2 separate regions of the Homo sapiens genome follow, and region 1 is linked to region 2. The links are contacts of gene promoters, found by promoter capture Hi-C in blood cells and fetal thymus (Javierre and others, 2016). All regions are on one chromosome and are shown on one strand. Each heading gives the region's core, a stretch centred on a gene start or on the middle of the fragment in contact. The rest is flanking DNA. Distances are from core to core; before and after follow the strand shown. Region 1 has its middle 23 kb from the start of PBDC1. Region 2 holds the start of CYSLTR1 (cysteinyl leukotriene receptor 1).

Evidence for each region. Contacts are between HindIII fragments. The CHiCAGO score rates a contact against its expected background, and 5 or more counts as called.
Region 1: a contact is called between a fragment that was not itself captured here and the fragment with the promoter of CYSLTR1 in region 2, in 1 of 17 cell types (M0 macrophages). The highest score is 6.2, in M0 macrophages.

The regions. Positions count from the first base shown.
Region 1 is chrX:76,146,673-76,154,184 of GRCh38, forward strand. No RefSeq gene overlaps it. Among named protein-coding and RNA genes, the nearest start is that of PBDC1, 23 kb to the right of the region's middle. RefSeq lists an enhancer at 1,775-2,309. The HindIII fragment of the contact is 8,412 bases long and covers 782-7,512 here.
Region 2 is chrX:78,324,228-78,331,088 of GRCh38, forward strand. CYSLTR1 (cysteinyl leukotriene receptor 1) reads right to left here and starts at 3,384. Exons shown (of 3, transcript NM_006639.4): 1 at 3,078-3,384. RefSeq lists an enhancer at 3,556-3,605. The HindIII fragment of the contact is 10,496 bases long and covers 3,265-6,861 here.

The DNA.
Region 1 (7,512 bases), core at 3,738-6,237, 2.2 Mb before region 2:
TTACATATGTGTATACATGTGCCATGCTGGTGTGCTGCACCCATTAACTCGTCATTTAGCATTAGGTATATCTCCTAATGCTGTCCCTCCCCCCTCCCCCCTTCCCCCACCCCACAACAGTCCCCAGAGTGTGATGTTCCCCTTCCTGTGTCCATGTGTTCTCATTGTTCAATTCCCATCTATGAGTGAGAACATGCGGTGTTTGGTTTTTTGTCCTTGCGATAGTTTACTGAGAATGATGATTTCCAATTTCATCCATGTCCCTACAAAGGACATGAACTCATCATTTTTTATGGTTGCATGGTATTCCATGGTGTATATGTGCCACATTTTGATAAGTATGAAATTGCTTGATTAATAAATGCAAAAATGTATGCTGGCAATTTTTAAGAAATTTCTGTTATTAGTTTACCAATAATTTTTAAGCAAGCATATGACAGATTTTACTTAAGTCATATAAAGATGAAAAGCATTTGGGCTAATTAATTTATGAGTACTTGTTAAGCCAGTGTGGTACCTTGTGGCCCAAAACACAACAAAATACGTGTACATACATATAAACACACACATACACACTTACACAGCTGTTCCCGGTCCAAACTGAGGGTCAGCCTACTTATTCCTGCTACCCGGTAATGAGATGCAGATGAACTGGGAAAGAAGAGAGTTTATATAAGCTCAGAAAACTTTGTAATTTTTACTTGGTCTGCCAATATTTTCGAGGCCTTCTCCCTGTGGAGAGACTGTCGTCAGACCAACTCAAAATTACAAAGTTTTCCAAAGCTTATATACCTTTTAAGCTATATGTTTACATATAACTTTGCATTCATCTAAAGACATAAGTTATTAACTTCTTTTAATCTACAACTAAGTTCTCAGTTTTGAAGACCTTCCTCTGGAGCCTCAGTAAATTTACTTAATCTAGATGGGTCCAGGTGCTTGGGGTGATTACCCTTATCTTGTCTGCTGTAAATCCATAGAGGTTTTAGAAGTTCCTTTAGACCACCAGTAAAACTTGTTTGTGGAGGTCTGGGGAGTTTCTTCAGACCTCCAATAAAAACTTGTTTAATCCCAAAGGGGTCCTGTTAAGAATTCCTTTATCTTGTCATGCTTCAAGGCCCAGGAGGACATAGGCAAAATTCTTGGTGGGCTTTTGTTAAATCCCAGCCTTTGTATAAGGGCACTGGCTCTTTCAGCTTTTAATATTTAACCAGTCAGTGCTGAAACAGTTGTTAAGGAGGCCTCCCTGTTCAGCTGTGAGACCTGCCCTGCCACACAACCAAAAATCCTATAGCTTTTACTTCAGAACTCTAGTCATGAGATATTAATACAAACTCATTGGTTTACAAAAACAATAACAAAATGAAATGGATGGATGCAAATGGTGGATTTTATCTCAGTAGAAATGTAACAGCAGACTTAATGCAGGCAAAAAAGAAAGCAGAGCCATACACAGAGAACTTAGGAACTTTATACTCACAGGTGGACCTTTGCGATCTGAATTTTCCTTGCCGTAATTGTGCAGAAAAGGACCACAGTATGTCAATTTTACACAAACATTCGCAAGAAGAGGCGCCATAAAACCAACAGAGTGCCTGAAAGGAGGTCATTCCTGTTTTTCCTCTTTCTTAGATTTATTTTTTGAAGGAAGGAACTTAGCTGTGGCCTAAGGTTTCAGTGGAGTGGGTCCAAGTATCCGGGTTGTGGGCAGGACTCCACAGTGTGTCACCACAGAGTAATTTCCACCTTATGTGTCTCATTTTCTCTCTCTGGAGGTCTAGCACCTATGGGAGGGTCAAAGCAAAGTGATCAGCTCTAATAGGCATTTCCTGGATGAGCTTTTTAAAACTATTTTGTTGTAGGTTCCCTGTAGGGCTGCTGGTTGTCACGGGGGTCAACACCCCCAGACACTCCCACTGGGCTCCAAGTCACCCAGGGGTGCCTTTCTGCTGGGAAGAGCAAAATGCCCTTTCCCTTTGGAGGTCAGGAAACAGTCTCTCATGTATCTATGAAAACAACAGTACAGCTCTTCACGCAGATGCACACACAAAACAACAAGATTAATTTGGGGAGGAAAAGCAATGGAGAAGACACTGTAGAATGCATCTCCAAATTAGAATTCGGATCCTAAACAATAACTTCCTAAGAGGGGAAAAAAGAGAGGGGCAGCTATGACCATTTCCTGTAAACTGTCTTCAGCCACTTGTAATTTTGTAGCTCTCATCTACCATTACACACGCCAAGGTCAAATCCTCTCACAGCACAAGATCCTTCCCCGACCGAACCACTTTACATCTTACATAAAATGATTGATGTTTCATGTCTCACTAAAATGTATGGAAGCAGGCTGTGCCCTGACCACCTTGGGCACGTGTCGTCAGGACCTCCTGAGGCTGTCATGGGCGGGTCCTTAACGTTGGCAAAATAAACTTTCTAAATTGACTGAGACACCTCTCAGATATCAGGGGTTCACAGCCCTATGGAAAAAAAAAAAAAAAAAAAGGCATATGTCAGAAAGTTTACAAGCAGGCTAGTCAACAAAGAATCTCACGTTAAAAATATTTTTTGTCGCTCTTCTGTCCATCAGATTGGCACAGAGATTTCAGAAAAGAAAAAGCGGGAGTTAGTAGGCCACCCTAAAAGCTGTGCCTCTACAGCGGAAAGAAACTTTGTTTTGACTCTGAGGAACGGCGCTTTTTTTCTAAACGCGAAGGGCGGGGTAAGAGCAGAGCTGCACGCATCTGTGAATACATACTGCCACCAAACGGGCATAATTTCACCGCGACGGAGAAAGTCTGGGAGGACGTTCTCTTTGCGGCCCAATTTCTGCTCTTTAGATCTGGAGCAGTCCACTGAGGGACCTGAACAAGATAAACGGGAAGGGAAAAGCGCCAGAAGTTCGAGCAGAGAACCCACCGGGCAGCCGGTGGGGGTGCCCCGGAAGTCGATTTGCAACTGGGAGGCGGGCGGTCTGCCGAAGTGCTGCCCCGGAAGCCATAGCAGTAGCAGAAGGACGTTCCCGCCCCGCTCCTTCCCCCGGCCCTCCCCCCGCCAGCCCTCCCCCAGCACCCCCCCCACCACCACGTTCCACCGCCTCTTCGGGGAGGCGGGAGCGCCGTGCCTGATGGGAGGTGTGGGCGTGTTGATCATGGGTGTAGGGAATTCGGCTGTCTCCTTTCTACCCGCCGCCCGAGTTTATTTTGTGCACGGTTTCTTTTGTAGCGGACGTTACTGGGAGGAATGAGGGCGAGGAAGAGAAAGACGTTAGTCCTCGGACCGTTTCCGAGAGTCATCTCCGGGAGTAATGCGAAGATGGACACGCTCAGTCCTGCCTGTGCATGCGCGTTCGCGTTGTACGGAATTCCCAAGCCAGCTGCGTAGTTTCTGCCTTGAAGCTATTTGGCGAGAAGTTTCGCCTGTTCCTTTACTTTGTGGGTCAGGGCTTGGGTGCTTGAGTGGGAGAAACAGAAAGCCAGCTAGCCCTGGAACCCCTTCTAAGATCGTCATCCACCCAGCCATCCATAAATCTGTTCATCCATGAAACAAATAATCATTGAGCACCCCTTATATGCCAGACACACGTAAGGATGCAAGGGCCGCGTTCTCATTCTAGTGGGTGGGGACAGAGAGTAAACAAATTATCTACTTAATTTCAGATAGTGGTAAGTGATAGAAAATAAAACGGGGTGATATTGTCAGAGGCGTTTGAACCAGAGCGACTCCATTCCGAGTGAGGGCTAGGAAAATGAAGCTGAGGCTTGCTGGGCTGCATTCCCAGAAAGTTAGGTATTCCCAGCCTCTAGATGTTTACGGTTAAGGGAACAAATTAATAACGTTTACTAAACAGACCCAGACTTGGGAGTGTCCAGATATTCCGATATCTGGAGAAGAAAGGCATTCCTAATTTTGCCTTAAAGATAACAACACTGATTCTTGCAAAACATAGTAATTAAGAAAATTAATCCTCTATCACAAACCCTTGTAGCAGAGCACATCTCCTCATATAACAAGCATTGTACCTAGGGTGGACGCATTCCTCCTCTTACTTTTGGGAACGTCCTACTCTGTCTATGGAGTAGCTGCCCTTTCACCACTGTGCTTTCTCAATAAACTTGCTTTTGCTTTGCACTGTGAACTCGCCCTGAATTATTTCTTGCGCGAGATCCAAGAACCCTCTCTTGGGGTCTGGATCAAGACCCCTTTCCTGTAACAATATGACAAAGAAATGCGGTGGATGTTATACCCATTTATACTTGGTGGTCAGACTCGGCTTCTTTCAAAAATGACAGTTGAAGACATTAGGAAGGGTCCTGTATGGCTTTGATGACCTTGATAAGGGTCAAGGCTTCTTCCTGGTTTTGCCTTGTCTCAGGCTTATTAACAGAGACTTAGATCACCACAAAATATTGATAGGTCTGCTGCTTCATTCCCTGCAGTTGCTCCTATACTCTGAAAACTAGCATCAGAGTACAAAATTCTAATAGAAGGACTAAGCGGGGTCAGGAAGTGCCAGCGCTCCAGCGTGAAAAACAAAAGCTGTTAGGTTAGGGCCTTGAGCACTTAGGTTAAAGGCCTTTTTCCACTGACCCCCCCAGGAGCCCAGAGGGATGGGGAAGTCTGGTTTCCTTCTTCTTTGTGGCCTGCCTTCCCTCTGGCCTCCTTGTTCTATGGGTCCTGGGATCTTATCCTTCTGGATTAGGTCATTATGGGGCTTTGCTTTGCTGTAATGGAGCAGCGTGTCACAGACAGACCTCTAGTGCTATCAATGGAAAGCCAGTGGAATTTTAATTCTGAATAAGTGTTTGGAATGGGCCCACGGTGCAGTATCTCCTATGCGGTTTTGGAGGCCTTGTAGAATTGGCACAAGTGACCAGGGCTGTGATAGTTTAAGGAATTCTATGTCTCAGCATGAAGTTAAAACCATGATGACAACGGTGTATAAAACAGTGGGGCTTACTGGTTTCCCTTTTCATCCTCTGAGTGTCCTTTCTGGCCTGTTTCTCACTTTCAGATTTGGGCCCAATTACCTAATTGTGTGAGCTCTATCTCTCTGAGCAAAACTGAAAGTGCAGTTGTGCATAAGGCGGAAGTCCGGGTGGATTGTGTTCTATCCTATTATGTATTAGGCCTATCCGCCTCTTCAGCATGACTGAAGAAATAAGCGTAAACACTGACAACTTATTTCCTCACTCGGATCTCTCCACGCCACCCTCACCAGCAAGGGGAAACCTGTGTTCAGAGGTGGGAAAGGCTAGCAAAAGCCACAGTTTTCTGGCTGGATCATAAAGAATGAACATTGTCTGATCTGGAAACACCCAGGGTCCCTATCCATTTAAACCAAAACATCTTTCTGCCAGGTTTGTAGTCCAAATCTTCCAACTACTCATTTCTCTCAAGCCTTCGTCTCCGTTCACCCTTCTATTTCACAACTTATTTTCTCTCTGCAAGCCTCCAACACTGCCTCCCGACTCCTCACATTCAGCCTCTGACCTTCCTTTCTAATTCGCTGAGAAAATTGCCTGAGAGTCAACCCAAATTAACAAGTCAAAAATCGAACTCTCCCATCTTCCCCTAGAAACCTCCTCCCACTGCAGCGTCCCCCCTCGCCCCACCCCTCACAGTTAAGGCCACTCTTATCCTTCCAATTGTTCATGCTATAGACTTGAGGGTGATCCTTCACGCCACTGTTTTACTCACCCCTCATTTCCATCTGTGAAGAAATCCTTTGAGCTCTCTTGTCAAAATAGATCCAGAATCTGACATCTGACGATGGGAGACATTCATCTCAGGGAAAAGCATAGGTGCCCCTTCTGAGCAGTTTGTCAGATTCGATCTCAGGGATACTGTTGAGTCCTGCAGAGGATCGTGTTTCCCTCTTTACATTTTGGCAGCTAGAAAACTTAAATCCACATCTGTGGCCAACTAGTGCTCAATGGCTTGCTCTTTGTGTTCAAGTTCGTCATCTGACTGGACTTCCTCATTTTAATTTGGACTTCATTTCTTCATCCAATATGTTTTTCAGAAGTTTGAATTCTCTGTATTGATGTGTTTTGTGAGCTGTGTATCTCCTCCGGTCCCAGCCCAGCAATGGCTTCTGATCTCACTCAGAGTAAAAGCCCAGTCCTTGTCCGGTAAGAGCCAACAGGATTTAATCTCTGGTTAACTCTCTGGCTTCCCCTCCAACATGTTGTCCTCTCTTCTGCCCTCACTCTGCCAGAGCCAAACTGGAATCAGCTTATACTTTTAATAACATCTTCTGTTTCTGGGGTGATTGAGCTACATCATACATGACCACGGCCACAGGTCTTTTCTTAAATCTTGTTCTTGATGGCAAGATATGACGGCTGTCTACGTTTGTTTGTTCGTCCCTTGTGCATGCCAGTGTTTGACCAAAGCATATCTGCCAACCTTATCCTGGAGTAGCATGTATATTGGTGCACTTTCCACTAGCAGCAACACTGGCATACCTGTCTAATGCTAAATTCTTGTTATGTAGCCCACCATTTGAGAAGAAAAATGCAATCACTTGTCCCAGTTGAGCCCATTAGATTGGTGATGACAAGTGCCTTTCATCTTAGCATATTTATATTGCCTGCTGGAAAAAAAAATGTGTTAAACTACCTACCGGTAGCCATTCATCTCTGCTTTTCTCTTTGCATCTGATTCCAACACACTTTCATGTTACATGTAGTTAGACACACATGAGAGGGGCAGGAGAGTCCTTTTCCCCAACACCCACCGGGAATGTCACGTGATCGGGTGATGGTTCAACAATTATCACATTGCCTGTCTAAAAATGGTACTTTGGCACCTGGAGTCAGGGAGAGATAATCTCCTGCTGATCTACAGCTGTTAACATTAACGTGGTTAACTGAATGCCAGGTAGAAACAAAAAGAGCTTCCAATAAAATCAAGTATTGTGGGACTGAGCTCAAGCATTGTGGGAGTGAGCTCAAGCATGTGAATTAAGACACAAAATGACGGAGTATGACCTTCCTATTGACACTTCACCAGAAAAGTGAAGAAAGCCTCAGGCGGGAATCCATACAACTTCCTAAACCCACTGTGCATGCTCACCTCCCAAGGGTAAGGAGGGTACTGTGCATGGGGCAGCACAGTACCCATGGGAAGAATCATGGGAAATGAGCCAGTCTATGAAGTTCCAGGATCAAGGTTAAACACCACACTTGAGCTTCATATGCCCGCTTGGGCCTCTTCCAAGTGTACTTTCTTTTATGTTCTAAACGCTTTTTAAATAAATTTCCACTCCTGCTCTGAAACTTGCCTCGGTCTCTTTTTCTGCCTTCTGCCTCTCAGTGGAATTCTTTCTTCTGAGAAGGCAAGAATTAAGGTTGCTGCAGACCCGTGTCTGGATTCGCTGCTGGTGGTAGCTCAGATACCTTACCCCGGTCACATTCACAGTCCCTTTCTCCTGACTAACCTGTTTTGACTGTTTACTCCCTATTTGTAATATCTCCAGCAACCTAATCTGGGTTTTAGAAATGGAGTATT
Region 2 (6,861 bases), core at 2,134-4,633:
TGAATTAATGGACCTAAGATGTCTGGATTTATCTAATCAAATTAGATAAAGGAATGGCTTTCTTTATTGCCTTTTCTGTAGGGATGAGGATATGTACTTCTTGCTATGAGTCTATCAGACTTCTTAGCAGTTTTTTGTTTGTTTGTTTGTTTGTTTTTTGAGACGGAGTCTCGCTTTGTCGCCCGGCTTGAGTGCAGTGGCGCGATCTCGGCTCACTGCGACCTCCACCACCCGGGTTCAAGCGATTCTCCTGCCTCAGCCTCTCGAGTAGCTGGGACTACAGGCATGCCTCATGACACCCAGCTAATTTTTGTATTTTTAGTAGAGATGGGGTTTCACCATATTGGCCAGGATGGTCTCAATCTCTTGACCTTGTGATCTGCCCACCTCGGCCTCCCAAAGTGCTGGGATTACAGGCATGAGCCACCACACCCAGCCAACAGTTTTATTTCTGCACTGCAAAGCAACAAATTGGCATACTGACTAATCTATCTTTTGTAGGGTTGACTAATATAAATATATCTTTCAACAGTTTGTTCATATCTGATTGAACTGGGAAAGCTTTTCTCACTGACCCTTAAATCATACCACATAGATGTTCATGTGGCCTGAAACGCAAATAACACTGGAGTGAGAGATAAAAGTGACTTTAGGTCTTTCTATTTTAGACACACACACACACACACACACAACTAGACATACTTATATATTTTAAAAACGTGATTTGTATTATAACCAAATCTGTGATTGAACAAGTGGTTTTATGAAAGAGTAGTGGGATATTGTGTTGCATTCAAAACTTGCTGCAAAAAACTATTTTAATCCTTAGCATATAATCCTAAGAATCAATGGGCTTGGTTAAAGTAGTAACAACAAAAGGTGGATAGTGCTTTCACAGAAATACTTTTTAAATACTACTCTTAAATATTTTATTCCTTTTAGAGTTCACATTGAGGTGTGCATAAGTATTGTAGGGCTAGTGACAACTATAATCCAGAGTGTTTGATGCTACTGACAGGTCCTAAGAGTAGGATGAGGTTGCTGAGACTTAGAGTGATGTCCCTGACCTAGCAATATAGTCTAGGGAGTAGAAAGTAGCTAGCCCTACTGTCTCCCCATGCAGTCAGTTTTGTTATATGTTTATCCACCTGGAATGAATGGAATTTAAACAAAATCCTTCTGATGGTGGTTTGTATTTTCAAGTCGCTTTCAGATTTTATATTTATCATTTTAAGAGATTTAGAAAATATTCCTATCAGCTCATTACTGCATTAGATACACAAAGGAACCAAGAAATACTAATGGCTGTTAACTTGCCAGAGAACACCCAGTTGTTTACATGTCAAAACAAGGGTGAACTCCCAGTTATCCCAGTTACCCCGTTTCTCTCCCATTGAAATCCATGCAGCAAGATAGTTTAGAGCAGCCACTGTTAGGTGTTAGGAACATGAGAATAACAAAATGGACCAAAGTAGAGGTCCATACAGGGCAATGTTATTTGGGAGATTATGATAGTTACCATTCATAGTATTGAATTCACAAGGTTGGGTATGTACCTTAAGAATCAGCACCTTCCCTTTATTATCCTTTATTATTGGTCAATTATACTGAAAATACAAATTTATAATTTTCTATACTGTGGAAGAGTCTTGCTTTTATGACAGATAAATAGTTTCTAAATGCATCAAAATTTCATTAAGGGGAGGTAGTAGAAAATGAGAATTGATGATTCTTGATTAGGAATACACTAACATGCTAGATTAAGTCTAAAAGCAAATAGCAAACTTTTCTTAACCTACCATTATCTGTGTGCTTACTGGCTCCCAAACTGACTTATTTTATTTGGAGGAACCCTGATTGGCTGGTGTAGTCAATACTTAGGGGAACTGGGGAAAATTTTTTTATCATGGATGAATGTAAATATAGCACTTGAGGTTGTTTATGATGTAAAAACAGATAGCTTTTAGTTCTAATTGAGCCATTAATAGTAAAACAACAACAGAAAACATTTCTGAATGATTAAGACTTCTGTAATAAAGTTAAAATTGTCTTGTAACAAATTTTCCTAATGTATTTTAAATGTAATACAGTCCTTTGTATTTTATAATGCATTGTAAAAATATAAATATTTTTGTTTTTAAAACAGTGTACAATCTAGTCCAGATTTAGTTACAATTTCTTTTAAAATAATCATTTGTTAGACATATGGTATCATAGTTTCTCTCTAGGTTTCAAAATAATCAGAATACTGGAAAGCAGAACCACTGAATTCAGTAGGTGGAACTTACAAACCCATTTGTTTCCTCTTGAAAACAGCCTTTTTTGTCGCTAAGTAGAAAAATGTTCCTGGCTAAAGATTTTATTAAAATGTATGAATCTTTGGCTCTGTGTAAACTTAGTCTACACCAGATGTGTCTGAGTTACTAAATAGATCATGCAATTTTCTTCTATTCATTTATAGTTGAGAGAGCTTTATTTTTACAGTCTCTGGCCAGAACTGGCCATTTTCTAGTTGTACGGTGTGTTTCAAGAAAATTTTTTAGCCTCTCTGAGTCAATTTTCTCATTCATAAACATGGACAGTAACACCTACCTTGTCTAAATTATAGGATGTTGAAAGGTTCAGGTGGGATAACAAATGTGAAACTACCTTGTGAAAATTTTACTCTCCACTGGTTTACCTTCAGTAATTACTACATATTTATTTTCCATATTGAAGGAAAATGTCACTACATTAGAGAAACTCCACTGAACCCTCAAAATGGGGATTTGAAAATGTATCTTACATTTCTGGCTTAAATTACAAAGGCACAGGAGGTTTGCGGAGTGTGTCTCCTCTGTATTTTGCCACGTTGAGCCCTAGCAGAAGCACTGAGCAATATTTGTTGACAGACTGATCATATTATCAGATTTCTGGCTAAGAAATAAAGCAGAAAGAATTCATACTAGCACCCAAACTTAAAGCAGGCAAGGCAGATAACTTATCCCCAAACTCCTGGGAATTTGCTAAAATTTACCATCAGCAACATTTTACTACATACTGTTCTGGTCTTAGTACTGAATACTGAGTCTCCTTACCTGCTAACTTCAAGGTCCACAGTTTACTGTCCTTTTGCGTTTGTTCTCAGAAGCAAGCTCCAAGTCTTCAGTAAATTCGATCTACCAGTCCTTGCAATTAATCCTTGTTGGCGAGCTGCACAGTATCTTGATACCCTGTAGGGTCGTAAAAGCACAGTCCATTCACAGAGTGCCTGCTCTATAGGCAAGCTTCTTTGCAAAGATGGGTTGCTGCTATTTTTAAGAGGGGAGAGAGCAGGGCACATTTGCTAGCCAATATATACAGATATACAGATTCTTCTTCCTCTTTCAGATTAGCCTTCAAACTGTTAAAGCACTCCCGGAGTCTGACTTCTCTGGTGCAAAGTGGGGGAGGGGAAGGGTCAAAGAGGAAGGAAGAATAGAAACTGGAGACTTGCAGGTTGCGTGTATGTATAAATAAACTTTTCTTCCTAGCTTCAGGAATAGAATTCTCAGGAAATTATTCAGCTGCTCTAAGATGGGAAGCAGGGACGAGTGTTCTCTCTTCAGCTTAGTTCTCTGTGATTTCTGTGACTGTGAGGTCATTAGACTATTTGTAGGTGGGGAAAGATAATCCTGCCAGTATATGCTAATATAACTGGCATTATGTGAAACTTGATCTTAAGTAACATAAATTTCATCTCTCCGTTTCTCTCTCTCTCTCCTTAATGACACTTGTGGCTCTATCCACATTCTAAAAAGCCTTTTCCTTTCTGGTTCCTTTTTGAGCTTTGTTTCCTGAAATCTTCATAACAATAAATTGCCTCCATTGGATTAAAACTGTTGTTTTCTTTTTTTGTCCCACTGAAGATGATCTGGAATGACTGGGCTTGCTGTCAATGGTCCTGTGTTGGAAATTTGGGGGATCAGGCAAGTGTTCTTGGCCTTTGGCTAGGCTCTGAGGTGTTAGAGCTGTGGGGTGCTCAATATGGCTTCTGGAGAAAAGGGACATAGCAGTCTGGTATGTGCTGATTGAAGCCTGGGGCAGCACTTTGATGTTAAAAACCAAATTGGTAAGATCATGATGTGAATTTGTTACATCAATTATCTTGAGTTATATTAAGAAGATTCTATATGGAGATGGGCATAAATATGTTGATGTTAACACTTTGTAAACATGCCCCATAACTAACAACTAGTTTTAGGTACTTGTAAAATATGAGCCCAGCAGTAGCCTTCTGGCTTGCTACCTGCTGTAGGAACAAAGTCATTTACTCAAATTTTGTATCTTTAGGTACAAGAATTACCTCACAACCAACCTGGGACAATCGCTTTAAGGCCCTTGAATCTTTATCTCTTTTCACAGAGTTCTGGATTGTGGTGGTGATGGTGATAGTTGGAGGAAAAGGCTATCCAACCACATTTGAAGGGATGTTAACATTTGGATTCAAGACTAGACTTTCTAATCCTCTCCTAGGGAGTTTTAGTAACTAAACTGACATTCAAACTAGTATTTCTTCAACTGAGTTTGGATCCCCAAATATCTACAGGAAAATTTATAAGTGAGACACAGAGTGAATTATCACTTTTCCTCCAGTCTGAAATGTTACAGCCATTTTGAGCTACAGTGGAAGGGCAATTCATACTCAGGAAATGAAGAAAAGAGAAAGGAGCTAGATCCTTTGTGGGGATAAGAGAGATCAGATTGTTACTGTGTCTATGTAGAAAAGGAAGACACAAGAAATTCCATTTTGATCTGTACCAGGAAAAATTGTTTCTGCTTTGATACCATACCCCAGCACAACACCCGTAAAGGGTCTCTGCTGAGGAGGAGTAGTGAAAGAGGGAGGTCTCTTTGCAGTTGAGATAAGAGGAAGGCTTCTGTCTCCTGCTCCTCCCTGGGAATGGAATGTCTCCTGTAAAGCCAACCATTCCCATTCTTTCTATTCTGAGATAGGATAAAACCGCCCTGTGGCTAGAGGCGAGATATGCTGGCAGAAATACTGCTCTGTTACTCTTTGCTACACTGAGGTGTTTGTATAAAGTGAAACATAAATCTGGCCTACATGCACATCCAGGCACAGTACCTTTCCTTGAATTTATGCATGATACAGATCCTTTGCTCACGTTTTCCTGCTGACCTTCTCCCCACCTGTTGCTCTGCTACACTCCCCTTGCCAAGATAGTAAAAATAATGATCAATAAATACTGAGGGAACTCAGAGACCAGCGCTGGTGCAGGTCCTCACATGCTGAGGCTGCCGGTCCCCTGGGCCCACTGTTCTTTCTCTATACTTTGTCTCTGTGTCATTTCTTTTCTCAGTCTCTCGTACCACCTGATGAGAAATACCCACAGGCGTGGAGGGGCAGGCCCCCTTCAATCCTTGAGCTTCAAGTTGGCACCGAAATAGCTGTGGCAGAGAGGGTGTTTCCTGTGGTTCTTCTTTGTGCTCCCCTACCTGTTTCTTTCATTAGCTAATTTTCTGTTCTTGAGCAATGGGGAAGGCAGTGATTCACCCATTCCCAAATGGGTCTTTGCCTTGTACAGCTGGATCAATTTACACCACATTTGCTATAAATGACATCAGACTCCTTGTCTCCTTGCTTCATCTCTTTATCTTTTCTCTTCCCATCCATCCATCTTCATTACATATCTACTCTCACATTCTCTTTCACTTTAGGAAAGGTTGAAGTGCCCAGAATGATACCTGTCTGCTGCTGTCTCTCTACTCTTGCTCATTTTCCCAGACTCCTTCAGTTCTTACTTTCTTATTGAGGTAAGGAAGACCAAATAGGGAGTGGTGAGGGAGAGGGGGGATAACATGTAGTTGGATGGGAAATCTGTCTCAATGAAGTAAGACTTGGGTAGCAAGATAAAGAATTTTCAGTCACAACAGCGTTCACACGTAAGTGACAGGATTCATAGCTTATGTGGACTCAGAGCTGAAAGAGGTAATGAAAAATCATCATCTGGTTCAGACTTTATATTAAATTGAATTTGTGAGGGTATGACATGTCTGATTCATCATTGTGTCCTCAGCTGTTAGCTCATTGCCTTGTTTGGTTTGTTGAATAAATAAATCTAGTCCAACCCTTTCATATTATAGATGAAAAAGCAGGCTAGAAAGAGGCTCTCTCAAGATGCCATTATTTTACCACAAAATCAAAAATAGTAATTTTTCTTTCTCCAGGACTGAAATTTTTTCACAGCCAATACTAATTGCACTTTGGAAGGGTAAAGAGCATGACTATACTCAAAGCCCAGCTCTATACAGACATATATGCTTGTTAAATTAAGTTTAGCCTAAAGCTGTCTCCTGGAAATATTTTAAGTTCAGCCTAAAGATTTCTCTGTACATAGTGAACTAAAACCTAACTAGAAGTATAAACAGACTGTAACCTACTCTTGTACCAGTCATCAAGATTGACCAAACGAAGGTAACCACCTGTTCCAACTATGTTCAAATAAGGAAAATGCCAAGCTGTAACCAATCCAGCTGTTTCTGTATTTCACTTTGACTTGCTGTACATCACTTTCCTTTTTCTATCTATAAATCTTCAACCATACCTCAGCACTGGAGCCTCTCTGAACCTTTTCTGGTTTGGAAACTGCCTGATTCACAAATTGTTCTTTGCTCAATTAAACTCTGTTAACTTTAATTTGTCTAAGGATTTTCTTTTATCACATTCATTCACAGAGACTAGAATAGCCATGATTCAACTTTTAGTTCCAGCTTATAGAAACACGGAGACAATGAAAAAAATCAGGCTGGCTGTAGAAATATGGCTATTACAACTTTCCTTTTTCCTGCCCCAGGGCCTATTCCATGGGTATAAAACAACCC